Linked DNA regions of Homo sapiens: region 2 is linked to region 1. Evidence: promoter capture Hi-C in 16 types of primary human blood cells and fetal thymus (Javierre and others, 2016). All regions are on one chromosome and are shown on one strand. Each heading gives the region's core, a stretch centred on a gene start or on the middle of the fragment in contact. The rest is flanking DNA. Distances are from core to core; before and after follow the strand shown. Region 1 holds the start of ATP5IF1 (ATP synthase inhibitory factor subunit 1). Region 2 overlaps TAF12 (TATA-box binding protein associated factor 12).

Evidence for each region. Contacts are between HindIII fragments. The CHiCAGO score rates a contact against its expected background, and 5 or more counts as called.
Region 2: a fragment that was not itself captured here is called in contact with the fragment with the promoter of ATP5IF1 in region 1 in 1 of 17 cell types (endothelial precursors); the score reaches 5.4 in endothelial precursors.

What each region holds. Positions count from the first base shown.
Region 1 is chr1:28,233,428-28,241,328 of GRCh38, forward strand. It overlaps ATP5IF1 (ATP synthase inhibitory factor subunit 1), which reads left to right and starts at 2,697. Exons shown (of 3, transcript NM_016311.5): 1 at 2,697-2,843; 2 at 2,934-3,025; 3 at 4,410-4,673. The coding sequence starts at 2,757. The coding sequence ends at 4,551. RefSeq lists enhancers at 1,596-2,102, 2,896-2,955 and a silencer at 1,935-2,159. The HindIII fragment of the contact is 3,687 bases long and covers 1,186-4,872 here.
Region 2 is chr1:28,601,814-28,609,714 of GRCh38, forward strand. It overlaps TAF12 (TATA-box binding protein associated factor 12), which reads right to left. Exons shown (of 6, transcript NM_005644.4): 5 at 3,559-3,647; 6 at 1,037-1,761. The coding sequence ends at 1,726. Among named protein-coding and RNA genes, the nearest start is that of RAB42, 13 kb to the left of the region's middle. RefSeq lists an enhancer at 626-1,126. The HindIII fragment of the contact is 676 bases long and covers 2,907-3,582 here.

The DNA.
Region 1 (7,901 bases), core at 1,447-3,946:
CCGGCTAATTTTATGTACTTTTGTGGAGACGGGGTCTTGCCATGTTGCCCAGGCCTCCCAAAGTACAGGAATTACAGGCATGAGCCACCGCGCCGGACCGGCTCAGCTGTCTTCAGAACATTCACAATGTTCTGCAACCACCATGTCTACCTGGTTCCAAAATAGTTTCATCACCTCAAAAGGAGACTTAGTATCTACTTTTTTTTTTTAGACGGAGTCTCACTCTGTCACCCAGGCTGGAGTGCAGTGGCGCCTCCCCGGTTCCAGAAATTCTGCCTTAGCCTCCCGAGTAGCTGAGATTACAGACAAACGCCACCATGCCCCGCTAATTTTTATATTTTTAGTAAAGCCGGATGTTCACCATGTTGGCCAGGATGGTCTACGATCTCCTGACGTCGTAATCCGCTCGCCTTGGCCTCCCAAAGTGCGGGGATTACAGGCGTGAGCCACCGCGCCTGGCCGAGGAGACCTAGTACCTATTAAGCAGTTACTCCCTATTCGCCCCCTCTCCCCAGTCCCTGAAAACAAGCAATCTGTGTTCTATCTATATGGATTTACCTATTCTGGATATTTCACATAAATGGAGTTAAACAATATGTGAATACGTATTTCACATAAATGGAATTAAACAAAATACCAGGTAGGGCTGCTATTTTCTCAACTAAAATATAATCAATAAAGCCAGTTTTACTATTTCATAGAAAACAAAGAAGGTTTTGTTTTGTTTTGTTTTTTTGAGGCAGAGGCTTGCTCTGTTGCCCAGGCTGGAGTGCAGTGGCATGATCTTGGCTCACTGCAACCGCCGCCTCCCAGGTTCAAGCAATTCTCCTGCCTCAACCTCCTGAGTAGCTGAGATTACAGGCGCATGTCACCACGCCCGGCTGATTTTTGTATTTTTAGTAGAGACGGAGTTAGTCAGGCTGATCTCGAACTCCTGACCTCATGATCCATGCGCCTCGGCCTCCCGAAGTGCTGGGATTACAGGTGTGAGACACCACGCCCAGCCCCAAAGAAGGTATTTTTATAATCATCAATCAGGTAGATAATCTGGCCCAATTCTCTCATCTAAAAAAGAAGAAACAGAGAAGAGAAAATGAGTTAGAGAAGAGCTATAAACTTCATGAGAGTAAAGACTACTGTTGTCTTGTTCACATTCATTAGATGGATGAAGGGAGGTTAAGGTCAAGCTTTCCCTAGACTCCTACTTATCCTTTTTTTTTTTTTTTTTTTTTTTTTTTGAGACAGAGTTTCGCTCTTGTTACCCAGGCCGCAGTGCAATGGCGTGATCTCAGCTCACCGCAACCTCAGCCTCCCGGGTTCAAGCATTCTCCTGCCTCAGCCTCCCAAGTAGCTGGGATTACAGGCATGTGCCACCACGCCTAGCTAATTTATTTTTTATTTTTATTTATTTATTTTTGAGACAGTTTCTCTCTTGTTGACCAGGCTGGAGTGCAATGGCGTGATCTCAGCTCACTGCACCCCCTGCCTCTCAGGTTCAAGCGATTCTCCTGCCTCAGCCTCCCGAGTAGCTGGGATTACAGATATGCGCCACCATGCCCAGCTAATTTTTCATATTTTTTTTTTAGTAGAGATGGGGTTTCTCCATGTTGGTCAAGCTGGTCTCGAATTCCCAACCTCAGGTGATCTGCCCGCCTCGGCCTCCCAAAGTGCTGGGATTACAGGTGTGAGCCACCGCGCCTGGCCTGCTCTTTTCTACTGCATTGCACCACATTGCCAAAAGTGCAGTTATTAAGCCCATTCAACAATATGTTGCTAACGAAAAAAACAAACTAAAATATTTTTAAAAGGTTTATTCTGAGCCAAGATGAGTGACCATAGCTTGGGGAAACACAGCCTCAAGAGGTCCTAGGAAACTGTGCCTGAGGTGGTCAAGTTATAATTTGGGTTTTCTTTTTTTTTTTTTTGTTTTGAGACGGAGTCTCGCTTTGTCACCAGGCTGGAGTGCAGTTGCGCAATCTCGGCTCACTGCAACCTCCGCCTCCCGGGTTCAAGCCAATTCTCCTGTCTCAGCCTCCTGAGTAGCTGCGATTACAGTCGCGTGCCACCGCACCCGGCTGATTTTTGTATTTTTAGTAGAGACGGGGTTTCCCCATGTTGGCCAGGCTGGTCTCGAACTCCGGACCTCAGGTGATCCACCCACTTCGGCCTCCCAAAGTGTTGGGATTACAGGCGTGAGCCACCGCGCCCAGCCAGAACACTGACACTTCTCATAACAAATGAACGCGATTTATGTATATCTAAGCCAGGGCACATTGGACGTCGGTATCCTGGACATCAGCATCCTGGACACAGCTCCCAAACCCCGAATTCCCCCATTTTATTGATGCTAGCAGGCCAGGGAAGGGAAAACTTCCTTTGGGCTTTGAATAATAACGACTTTAGAATTGAAATCGTGGGCTGGAGGTGGACGCCACGCCTCATTCTGATGGGTCCAAGAGCCGAAATTTCGGCTTCTGGCACTCTCCTCACTCAGCTCTCTAAACTCCTCCATCATTCCTCTTTCCAGTCCTTTGGCCCTAAGCCCTTGCTAGCGGTTGGCTAAGAAGAAACCCGTCTCTTGCTCGGGATTCGCTGTGAGCTCCGGGAAGCCCGCCTCCGCTCTCCCGTGATTCGCTACTCCTGTGTTCATCCGCCCCTCCGTCGACCAGATTGGGTGCTTGGCCGTCCCTGCCATTAGCGCGTAACGAGAGACTGCTTGCTGCGGCAGAGACGCCAGAGGTGCAGCTCCAGCAGCAATGGCAGTGACGGCGTTGGCGGCGCGGACGTGGCTTGGCGTGTGGGGCGTGAGGACCATGCAAGCCCGAGGCTTCGGCTCGGATCAGGTACGCTGCGGCAGTGTCCGCTGCTCCAGCCCCGCGGGCGGATCCCATCTTTGCTTCCGTACCTTTACCAGTGTCCCTGTCTCTCTGCAGTCCGAGAATGTCGACCGGGGCGCGGGCTCCATCCGGGAAGCCGGTGGGGCCTTCGGAAAGAGAGAGCAGGCTGAAGAGGAACGATATTTCCGGTGAGGCTCACCGGGTCCCAAGTCCAGCCCTGGATCTCCCAATGGCCTTCCAATCCTTAAACTGCCAATCGCCCCACCCGTTCCTACCTGGTGCCTTGGGCGCCCCATCCCCCAACAGAACTCCCGGGCCCCAATCCAGTATACCCTAACCCTTGATGTCCCGACCGTTGCCACGTATAGGGCACTCCCAGTTACCTGCACAACAGTTTCAGGCCCCCAAACCGTTTCCACCGGCGGGTCTCCAAAACAACCCACGGCTCAACTCCTCCTTTATCATTACCATCTCCCGCGTGGAGTTCTCCTCAGGTCGTGCGAAACACCCCCAGATTCTTCGCACAGTGTCTAGATCCGACCGCCCAACGTTTGCCTCCCAGCCTGACTCCCTCGGCCCTTACCCACCTGTCACCCCCTCTACGCTCTCCTTCCTCGCCAGCACGCCTTAGCTTTGCAAGCCTGCATGCATTCAGGCTTCTCAGGTGTTTCTAGACCCCCGACTCCGCAAGAGTGAGGATGATGGGAGCTGGTCATGGGAGCTACTTATGGTTGGACACCATCTTCTAAAGGCTTTTGCCCTACTCAGCCCAACCTAGACCTGTAGATTTCCCTCTCCTGCTTAGGAGTATGGAGTGGGCTGGGCCTCCCTTTGCCAGCCTTGAGTTATCTTTAACTGACTTCTGTCCACTCTGGAGAGCAGTGAGGAATTAATCTTGCTTTTGCTTGTCCTTTGGCCTTTCACTTCTGCCTTCTGTTGAGAATTATCACCATGACACCTGCCATACCGTATAGAGAGCCAAGGTACAGCCGTTAGAGACTATCTAATTGAGCCCCTACATTTTGTAGTTAAGGAAAACTGAGGCCTAAATGTGACCAAACCAACATTGTAATCCAGTCCCTTCTTGGAACCTAAATTGAACTGCCAAGTACTGCGCATGCAAGAGACCCTTTATTGGCCTTACAGTGGGCCATTCATTTCTATAGGCAAAGAAAGCTCTAGACAGATTGGAATAGGAAATGGATATTTGCCTTTTAGCTACACCCCTTTGTCTGTCTTCCTCATTTTGTTCCTTTTTTTTTCCCTAAAGGGGAGTCAAGTTCCCTGGGTTGTTCCCCTCATAAGGTATTAGGGACTTGTGTCACATCTCTCTGGAGTTTTCTATTTTAAAGAGGAATCTGAAAGCAATAAGCTCTTTGGTCTTCTTAAGATGGCTACACCTCAATTTAAGATGGGGTATTCTTTCACTAGTTGAGGAGTAGAAGAGGATGACCAGCTAGACTCCCATGGAATTGGAACTCCTATTCCTTGCTTAGACATTACAGGTTATGCTTTGAGATCTCTTTGGGGTGAAGGATTGAAATTAAACCCTGAGCCACCGTGTCCTTGTAGAGCACAGAGTAGAGAACAACTGGCAGCTTTGAAAAAACACCATGAAGAAGAAATCGTTCATCATAAGAAGGAGATTGAGCGTCTGCAGAAAGAAATTGAGCGCCATAAGCAGAAGATCAAAATGCTAAAACATGATGATTAAGTGCACACCGTGTGCCATAGAATGGCACATGTCATTGCCCACTTCTGTGTAGACATGGTTCTGGTTTAACTAATATTTGTCTGTGTGCTACTAACAGATTATAATAAATTGTCATCAGTGAACTGTGTTTGATGCCTTCTTCTATCTGGAAGAGATAGACAGACACCAATGGACTGCTAAAATGGATTAGAGGCGTCCCTGCATCCAGGAACCCACAGACAATGCACAGTGTGATAAGTGCTATGAAACAACACGAGTTGGGGGGATAGGTGTGACACAGACAAAGTACCCCTCCCCGTCTAATTAGAGGTGTTCAGAGAAAGCTTCCTGAAGGATAAATCCCAATCTGAAGCATAAAGATCAGGAGGATCCTGGAGATCCGAAGGAGTCATTGCTTCAAAAGATACAATTAGGCCAGGTGCGGTGGCTCATGCCTGTAATCCCAGCACTTTGGAAGGCCAAGGTGGGTGGATCACCTGAGGTCAGGAGTTCAAGACCAGCCTGGACAACAGTAAAACCCCATCTCTATTAAAAATACAAAAATTAGCCAGGTGTGGTGGCACGCACCTGTAGTCCCAGCTACTCAGGAGGCTGAGGCAGGAAAACCACTTGAACCTGGGAGGTGTAGGTTGCAGTGAGCCGAGACTGTGCCACTGCACTCCAGTCTGGGTGACAGAATGAGACTCTGTCTCAAAAAAAAAAAAAAAAAAGATACAATTGAAAGTACCATCAGTTAAAACAGCATTTTGCATTTTTAAAATGGTTTAGAGGATACTTAATATGAGCTAGTCATCCTTGTTCTAATTTTGTAGATTGAGAGAACTGGAATTAGAAATCATGTGATTTATACAGTCACTCAGCACCTTGGCAGTGAGACTTGTGTCCAGGTTTTTTGACTACTAAACCAAGTCTGTTATTAGCAGAAAATCAGAATTATTTCTTAGGTTATATTTTGCTTTGCCAAGTATTTTGTTTCAAATTAGACTTGAGGGCCTAGTATAACTAAATTATTATACAAACTAGTTGTGTAACTCCTCTAGGCAAAAAAATTTGAGGTGACATTTGGGCCATTAGCAAAACATTTTCAGTTCACCAGTTCAGTAGAGTATTTGCCCAGGATTGTAATGAGTTATTTGTTCTAAGACCCTATCTATCTCACAAGGGCCTGTAGGACCATTGAGTGATAAAAGCTTGGAGAAGTCGCATTGACCTTGTCTGTACAGACAAAACACTAGATAGTTTGACTTGCCCATGAAACTGAACACAGCCAGGTGTGGTATGTGCCTACAGTTCAGCTACTTGGCAGTCTGAGGCAAGACGATTGCTTGAGCCCAGGAGTTCCAGACATGCCTGGGCAGCATTTTGACCCCATCTCTTTAAAAAAAAAAACAAAAAACAAAAAACTAAACTTTGAATTATAATGATTATAATGTTGCTGAATCTCAGCACTGAGGCCTCAGTAGTGCCTATAAATCTTGCAAGTGGCCAGCAACAAAATAACCTGAAAAGATGAAGTTCAAGAAACAATCATACTAAGTCAAATGCCTTTTATTTTAACATTATTAACAGTGCAACACTTGAAAAGTTTAAAAATTGGAAACAAGTATTAGCAAACATCTTTAATTTTGCATATTTGTAACCAAAAAAACAAGGTATACAAAATCCCCTGAATTTGTACATGATGGTGTTTTTTTGACTTATAATCAACAATTGCCTTACTAAGAGTGATGTTCCTGAATTGTTTCCTCAGTAAAGGTGTACCATAGGCTGGGTGCGATGGCTCATGCCTGTAATCCCAGCACTTTGAGAGGCCGAGGCAGGCGGATCATCTGAGGTCAGGAGTTCAAGACCAGCCTGGCTAACATGGCAAAACCCCATCTCTACTAAAAATACAAAAATTAGCCATGTGTGGTGTTGGGCACCTGTAATCCCCGCTACTCGGGAGGCTGAGGCAGGAGAATTACTTGAACCTGGGAGGCAGAGGTTGCAGTGAGCTGAGATTGTGCCACTGTACTCCAGCCTGAGAGACAGAGTGAGACTCCATCTCAACAACAACCAAAAAAAGATTAAATAGGCTAATTTAAATATATCTGAACTTTGTGAAAATGGTAACTCATGGTCTTTTTGTTATGATATACCTGTGGTTAATTTTTCTATCATGCTGCAGTAAAAGCAAGATGTAAATACTGAGTAATATCACAAACATGTTTGAATCCTAAAAGAATTTATGTGACATGAGCCAGTAACCACTGAAAAAACAGCACAGGTCATAGGTGGTTCTTAGAATCAGGATAATTTGGAAAATACTACAGCAGTGGTTCCATGAGCCAGCAGTGTCAGCATCACCTGGGAACTTGTTAGAAATGCAAATTCTCGGCAGGGCGCGGTGGCTCTTGCCTGTAATCCCAGCAATTTGGGAGGCCGAGGTGGGTGGGTCACAAGGTCAGGAGTTCGAGACCAGCCTGGCCAATATGGTAAAACCCCGTCTCTACTAAAAATCCAAAAATTAGCTGAGCATGGTGGCGGGCACCTGTAGTCCCAGCTACTCGGGAGGCTGAGGCAGAAGAATCGCTTGAACCGGGAGGCGGAGGTTGCAGTGAGCCAAGATCGCACCACTGCACTCCAGTCTGGGCAACAGAGCAAGACTCCGTCTAAAAAAAAAAAAAAAAGAAATGTAAATTCTCAGGCCCCACCACAAACCTGCTGAAACGAGGGGTTTGACTCAGCAATCCTTTAACAAGCCCTCCGGTTGATTCTGTCATGTATGCACCAAAGTTTGACGATCATTGTAGTACAGGTAGTTTCTCATGGAATCTGCTGGCATTTTTGGGTAAACACTTTTATAAAGACAGATTATTAGGTATAATAAAAGTAACTATATATGTTTAATATAATTCATAATATGAATGTGACTTTAGAATTTAGAAATAAATGGTTCTTGTATGGAACTTGTTAACATTTGAGAACACAGCATTCCACAGAATACAGTTTGGGAAATACTTCACTTGTATAATATATTTATTGCCTTAGTCAAAATTCTTTTTGTCCTCCGCCTCCCACTGCTTCACTTGACTAGCCTAAAAAAATAAAAAATAAAATCCTTTTTGTTTACATGTAACAGAAACCAGCACTGGCTGTCTAAAGGGGAAGAAAAAGAGTAATTTACTGGAAGAAATAGGGGCTATTGTCTCACAGAATCTCAAGAAGATTTCAGCAAACAAGACTCAGGAAAAAAAGGGACAGCAGTAGCCAGAGGAGTTCTGTGAACTTACAGGAGCAGATCTGTCTAAGCAACTTCTAAACCCTCTGGGTCAGAATCGGGCTGGCTGGGCTGGGCGCAGTGGCTCCCC
Region 2 (7,901 bases), core at 1,995-4,494, 370 kb after region 1:
GTACTACTGAAACCCAGCTGGAGGCCCCTTGGTGTTTGGTATCACCAACAGAATATCCTTTATGAGTGTCACCACTGGCATCAGGAGGTTCTGGGGAAAGTGAAACCCTTCAGCATCCTCGTCCTGATGGTTGGCCACAAGAGTGACCTGTTGGTGAGCACTGGGTGACACCACAGGGAAAGAAGCTGGCTGCCTCTTTGGGGCATTGAAACTTCAGCCAAGAGCAACAGTAACATTAGCACAGCCTCTGAGGAGCTCACTCAGTGTATCTGTGAGACTGTGAAGTGGGGGGGACATGGGATCTAACTCAGGGTGGGAGGGAATTTTGAAATGCAGGGTCTCATCCTGGGCCAAGCTTCAGGACGCAGAGGACCAAAGCAAATCAAGGTGGCTGTGCCTGTGCTAGTGACCCTTGGGTAGGACAGCCATCCTCCCTAGAGCCCACAGAACTCTCACAATCCACAAGGGCCATGCTGGGCCCAGGACAGGATGATGCTAGGTGCCACTGAAGGACATGACCCAGAGGTCTGGAAGGCGCCTGGTTTCTTCTGCATGATGGTGAAAACACCAGGATCAAAGATAACAGCAACTAAGAAGAGATGGGCACCTGCACAGACATGCCTATCCTGAGGACAGGGGCCTACTCCCATCCTTTCTCAGGGACAGGGACAAACACAGCTTTCTCCAGGAGTTCCAGAAGAGCAGGTCAAAAAGGGTTTTTAGGCCGGGCGCGGTGGCTCACGCTTGTAATCTCAGCACTTTGGGAGTGCGAGACCTGTCTGACCAACACAGTGAAAACCCCATCTCCACTAAAAATACAAAAATTATCTCGGTGTGGCGGCAGGCGCCTGTAACCCCAGTTACTTGGGAATCTGAGGCAGGAGAATCGCTTAAACCTGGGAGGCTGAGGTGGCAGTGAGCCAAGATCACATCACTGCACTCTAGCCTGGGTGACAGAGCTAGACTCCGTCTCAAAAAAAAAAAAATTAAAAAAAAACAAAAAAAACCAAAAAGGGTTTTTAGGCATATAACATTGCCAAAACAAGGATGCCTCTTCAGTTGAGGGCCGTGAGAGAAGGTCACCCTACTCAATTCTTATGGCCGAGAAGCTGGACTCAAACTCCTGCTGATGTTATGGCCTCCCTTGGGGTAAAATGATGGAAAATCCCTGAGTTTTTCTCAAACACCAAAATGAATAACGATGCTGCCACCTGCTGACTAGAGAGCTACAATCCAGGCTTGCTTGTCCTGACTCCCTCTGGGATTTCAAAGGTACCCTGTCTTTCGATTAATAACTTCTTTATTCTGGAAAAGCAAATGAAAGTCATATTCATATAAACACTGACATTACAAAGTACAGGGAAAAGGGGAAGGGAGAAGGAAACAAAACCCTTTACAAATCCTGCTAATACTGTCTTACCCAAAAAGACCATAATGCTTTGTCCCATATTCAGTCACTTATATAATAAACCACAAATAAAATCTTCTCTGGAAGATACATTGCTCCTCTTTGAGATGGCAGGGAAAAGGGACCGGAAGTTGGGGTAGGAGGCTTTATTCTTTTGGCAGATCCTCTCAGTCATTATAGATATTGCTGCACTGTTAATAAAAAATATATGCTTCTCTGTAAAGCATTAAAAAAAAAAATCCAAGGATGAGATGGCTGAGTTCTCAGCTCAAGTATCTCCAAATACATTGCTGTCCATTCCCTGACCTTTCCGTGTGTTATTTCTTGGTTGTTTTCCGGATCAATGCCATTCTCTGAAAGGAGAGACAAATAAGCAGTTATACAGCAGCAGCTGGAGTCAGGAGCTTTCTGGAACATTCTGTGTGGCTAGCAGGCCTCATGGTCTACACTGTAGGCCGCAGCCCTCAGAGACCTGCAGTCACAAGGCATCTCAGTAGATTCCTTTTAACCAGAGAGCAGTCTGCAAGGCCCCAAGAGATGTTTAGATGGGCTAGTGGACCCATTTCATCCACCAAACTGCTCTAGGCTAGCAGAATGGCAAAAAAGTTAAAAGCAGGAGAAAGTGACAGCTCTTGAGTTTTGGTGACTTAGAGAATAAGCTGGCAAAGCATGTGTTTTCTTTCTTTCTTTTTTTTTTTTTTGAGATGGAATCTCGCTCTGTTGCCCAGGCTGGAGTGCAGTGGCATGATTTCGGCTCACTGCAACCTCTGCCTCCCAAGTTCAAGTGATTCTCCTGCCTCAGCCTCCCCAGTAGCTGGGATTACAGGCACGTGCCACCACGCCTGGCTAATTTTTGTATTTTTAGTAGAGACAGGGTTTCACTACATTGGCCGGGCTGGTGTCAAACTCCTAACCTCAAGTGATCCACCAGGCTCGGCCTCCCAAAGTGCTAGGATTACAGGCATGAGCCACTGCGCCTGGCCAAGCATGTGTTTTCTGGGGTCCCCTGACCCCAATCTTTTCTCCAATGATGGACACAATAGGGAAGGGGCCTCAATTTCAAAGTGTTGCCACACACAAAGGGAGCTGACATTTCACATCTCATGACCTGCATTGAAGGGAAACTGAAGACTAACAACTTCTACCACAGTCCATCATGGAAACACTCAGATCATAGGTTTCATGATCTGAATTCTTTTACTATTACTAGCTACTAGCCAAATTAACAACTTACTTTGTTCATTCTTTTTGACCAAATACCAATATTATGGCATTTGTCGACTAAATAAATAGGGCTGAAAATGGTTAACTTGGGAGCACAAAGTGACAGTCCATTGTTTGCAGGGACTCTCTTCTGAACAGTGCAATCTTTCCATTCAGGAAACTGGTGGCTTCCCTTTAGGGCTTGCTTCGTGAGCTTTACAAACACCGGCTCCAGAGATACCAGGCTATGGCGAAGCAGGGGCACTCAACCAGGACTGCCCAGTTGTGCCTGCTAAGCTTGGAAAAAGCTCACGTTTCAAATCAGAGTAGCCACTTAAGTTAAGACAGAAAGGATAACAGCCTTGTCAGAGGGAGGCCAACACTGCTGTTGGACTGACCAAAGATGGGGATGACTTGCTCCACAGCAGAAGTAGTATTCTCACACTGACTCCTAGGTTCCTTGTTCAGAGGGAACCTTGTTCAAAGGTAAAACCAGGACACAGGCCAGAATGTCCAGCACGGCAGCCTGGATACTACCTCTCAGAACAAGTACAGCACATTTTTGCTTTCTTTAACCTGCCCTCTCTTCATAGGACCATATATGGTGTTGCAATCAGCAACAATGAAGGAAGATTTCATTAAGGAGGTATGGTGGGGCGAGCTGCATCCATATTAGAAGAACCCAGAATCAACAGCTTTAAGTGACACTCAACAGAGTTACGAGAAAAAACAGACCACATGTGGGAACAGCACAGCACCATGTGAATATCTTATTGATCTCCCGGAGACCGCTGCTGCCTCTTGCCCTCTCTGACCCTTGCTCCAGAGAGTGAAGTTTGCTGTGTGGAGGAAGCGAGGCCCCCTAGAAGGTAGCTGTGTGTATCCACTCTGAGACGTAACTCAAGGAATCAGCCCTGGCTGTCCCCAGGGCTCTGGCATTTCCTCACCTGTTTGTGAGCTTCTGTGGTGCAAGCTTTTTTGTAGGGTCGGATTTCTTCAGAGCCAAATCCTGGGATCCACATGTTCCACTGGCGCTCTGCAAGGAAGAAGCCAGCACAGAGATAAACGTACCAAGAAGGCAGTACCAGGAGTGCAATGTGACCCCCTTGGATCAGGGAGGATGAATGTGGGCATCTGGCTACTAACTCCACAAAGGGATTCTATTACAAATAGGGAAAATGGACATGGCTTCTCCAAGGTTTTTTCTTTTTTTTTGGAGACAGGGTCTTCCCACTCTGTCACCCAGAGTGGGGTGCAGTGGCACAATCTTGGCTCACTACAGCCTTGACTACCCCAGCACAAGCGATATTCCCATCCTGGCCTCCCAAGTAGCTGGGACTACAGGCGCATGCCACCATGGCCAGCTAATATTTCTTATTTCTTATATTTCTTTAAGACGGAATTTTGCTCCTGTTGCCCAGGCTGGAGTGCAATGGCGCAATCTCGACTCACTGCAATCTCTCAGGCTTCAACATTGAATATGCCACAGGCTCATTTGCCAGGTTCAAGCAATTCTCCTGCCTCAGCCTCCTGAGTAGCTGGGATTACAGGTGTGTGCCACCATGCCTGGCTTTTTTATTTTTTATTTTTTGGAGATGGAGTCTCACTCTGTTGCCCAAGTTGGAGTGCAGTGGTGCGATCTCGGCTCACTGAAACCTCTGCCACCTGGGTTCAAGCGATTCTCCTGCCTCAGACTCCCGAGTAGCTGGGATTCCAGGCATCTGCCACTGCATCTGGCTAATTTTTGTATTTTTAGTAGAGATGGGGTTTCACCATCTCGGTCAGGCTGGTCTTGAACTCCTGACCTCGTGATCCACCCACCTCGAACTCCCAAAGTTCTAGGATTACAGGCGTGAGACATCGCACCTGGCCTCAGCTAATTTTTTGTATTTTTAGTAGAAACGGGGTTTCACCATGTTAGCCAGGCTGGTCTCAACCTCTTGACCTCAGGTGATCTGCCTGCCTCAGCCTCCCGAAGTGCTGGGATTACAGGCGTGAGCCACTGCGCCTGGCTGTATATTTCTATTTTTTGTAGAGAGGGGGTCTTGTTATGTTGAACTTTTGGGCTCAAGCACATCCTCCTGCCTCAGCCTCCCGAAGTGTTGGTATTACAGGCATCAGTCACCATGCCTGGCTTCCTCCAAGGTTTCTAAAGGACAAAATTCAAGCTTCTTGCAAAGAAAAAGAGGTAATTTAGTCAAAGCTGTGAATGCTGAGACCTAAGGTTTCCATGCAGCTTATCCAATTCACAGAAAATAAATATCATTTATTTCTTTAGTTGTCTTAATCCTAAGGCTCAAAGTAACCCCTCTCACACCTAAGGGACATGAAGGCACTTCAAGCATTCTGGAATTAAGAGCCAAAGCTGAGGTCTGCTGCTTCACTGAGCAGCTGTATGACGCTGGCTCCCAGTTTCTTCATTTTTTATGTAGCTGTAACAACAGTAATAACCACTGACAGGGTGGTTGGGGCATTCAATGACATAAGGCATGTGAAGTATTCAGCCCAGAGCCTAGGGTAAACATATAGGTATGGATATAGAGAGAAGTATGTCCACACCACAGTTCCATGACCTGGTGCCCCTGGATATTATCTTCCTTATAAGGTTATCACAAGAAGTTCCCAGAGGACAGGGACTTTGTTTATTCCTCTTTGACAGTAACTGGCATAGGGGCATGGCCCCCTAAACTCATGTATAAAGGTGTACGTCACTTTTAGCAAATCACAGGCATAAGCCACAACACCTGGCCCAATATTTCTTTGAAAACAGAATGTCTGAAACCTTCTGCTAACAATTTATGTTATTAGTATTTGAAAGTGACACTGGCCAGATGTGGTGGCTCATTCCTGTAATCTCAGCACTTTGGGAGGCCAAGACGGGAAGACTGCTTGAGCCCAGGAGTTCAAGACCAGTGTAGGCATAATAGTGAGACTGCATTGTTACTAGAAATAAAAATATTAGCTGGGCGGGAGTGGTGGGTCACGCCTGTAATCCCAGCACTTCGGGAGGCCAAAGTGGGCGGATCACCTGAAGTCAGGAGCTCAAGACCAGTCTGGCCAACATGGTGAAACCTGGTGTCTACTAAAAATATAAAAAATTAGTCAGGCATGGTGGCAGGTGCCTATAATCCCAGCTACTTGGGAGGCTGAGGCAGGAGAATCACTTGAACCTGGGAGGCAGAGGTTGCAGTGAGCTGAGACGGCACCACTGCACTCTAGCCTAGGTGACAGAGCGAGACTCCATCTCAAAAAGAAAACTTTTTTTTTTAGCTGTATGTGGTGGTGTGCACCTGTAGTCCCAACTACTTGGGAGTCTAAGGCAGGAGGATCACTTGAGCCCAGGAGGTAGAAGATGCAGTGAGCCATAATCACACCACTGCACTGCAGCCTGGGTGAAGAGGAAGATCCTGCCTCAAAAGAAAACAAAAAGGGCCAGGCACGATGATTCACACCTGTAATCCCACCACTTTGGGAGGCTGAGGCGGATGGATCACTTGAGGCCAAGAGTTCAAGATCAGCCTGGACAACATGGTGAAACCTCCTATCTACTAAAAATACAAAAATTAGCCAAGAGTGATGGTGAGTGCCTATAATCCCAGCTACAAGGCACAAGAATCCCTTGAACAGCCGGGCGTGATGGCTCATGCCTGTAATCCGAGCACTTTGGGAGACCAAGGCTGGTGGATCACAAAGTCAGGAGATCAAGACCATCCTGGCTAACACAGTGAAACCCGGTCTCTACTAAAAATACAAAAAAAAAAAAAAAAAAAAATAGCCGGGTGTGGTGGCGGGCGCCTGTAGTCCCAGCTACTCGGGAGGCTGAGGCAGGAGAATGGTGTGAACCTGGGAGGCAGAGCTTGCAGTGAGCCAAGATCGCGCCACTGCACTCCAGCGTGGGCGATAGAGCAAGGCTCCATCTCAAAAAAAAAAGGATCCCTTGAACTCAGGTGGTGGAGGTTGCAGACAAAGGTTATTCTCTACGAATTGAACTTTACAGTCAACAAAAAGTAGATAAAGTGTGCAAAGTCACTTTAAAGAAAGAGAGCAGGCCGGGTGTGGTGGCTCACGGCTGCAATCCCAGCACTTTGGGAGGCCAAGGTAGGCAGATTGCCTGAGCTCAGGAGTTGGAGACCAGCCTGGGCAACACAGTGAAAACCCGTCTCGACTAAAAATACAAAAAATTAGCCAGGCGTGGTGGCGTGTGCCTGTGGTCCCAGCTAATCGGGAGGCTGAAGCAGGAGAATCGCTTGAACCCGGGAGGCAGAGGTTGCAGTGAGCGGAGATTGTGCCACTGCACTCCAGTCTGGGCGACAGACTGAGACTCTGTCTCAAAGTAAATAAATAAATAAATAAAAGACAAAAAATTAGCCAGGCGTGGTGGGAGGGCGCCTACGTAATCCCAGTTACTCCGAAGGCTGAGGCAGGAGAATCACTTGAACCTGGAAGGCAGAGGTTGCAGTGAGCCGAGGTCACACCCTTGCATTCCAGCCTGGGCAAAAAGAGTGAAATTCCGTCTCAAAAATAAATAAAGAAAGAAATAATAAAGACAGTAGCTACCACACATGAATACATACATGTATGTGTGTCTATTTATGTAACTACGTATACCTATATGCGTTATGTGTGTATACATATATCTTATATAATCTTTTTTATTTATTTATTTTTTGAGACTGAGTTTTGCTCTTGTTGCCCAGGCTGGAGTGCAATGGTGTGATCTCGGCTCACTGCAACCTCCGCCTCCTAGGTTCAAGCGATTCTCCTGCCTCAGCCTCCCGAGTAGCTGGGATTACAGGCACATGCCACCACGCCCGGCTAATTTTGTATTTTTAGTAGAGGCAGGGTTTCTCCACGTTGGTCAGGCTGGTCTCGAACTCCTGACCTCAAGGGAAATGCCCGCCTCGGCCTCCCAAAGTGCTGGGATTACAGGCGTGAGCCACCATGCCCGGCCTATATAATCTTAATATAATAGCAACAACAATCATTTAGTGAATGAAATGTAGTAAATGCATGGTCAAAGCAACATTGTGCAAAGCATTCTATGTAAATTATCTCATTTAACTTTAACTTTTTTTTTTCTGAGATGGGCTACTGCTCTGTCGCCCAGGCTGGAGTGCAGTGGTGTGATCTTGGCTCACTGCAACCTCTGCCTCCTGGATTCAAGCGATTTTCGTGCCTCAGCCTCTGGAGTAGCTGGGACTACAGGCGTGCACCACCACGCTCAGCTAATTTTTGTATTTTTGGTAGAGATGGGGTTTCACCGTGTTGGCCAGGCTGGTCTCGAACACCT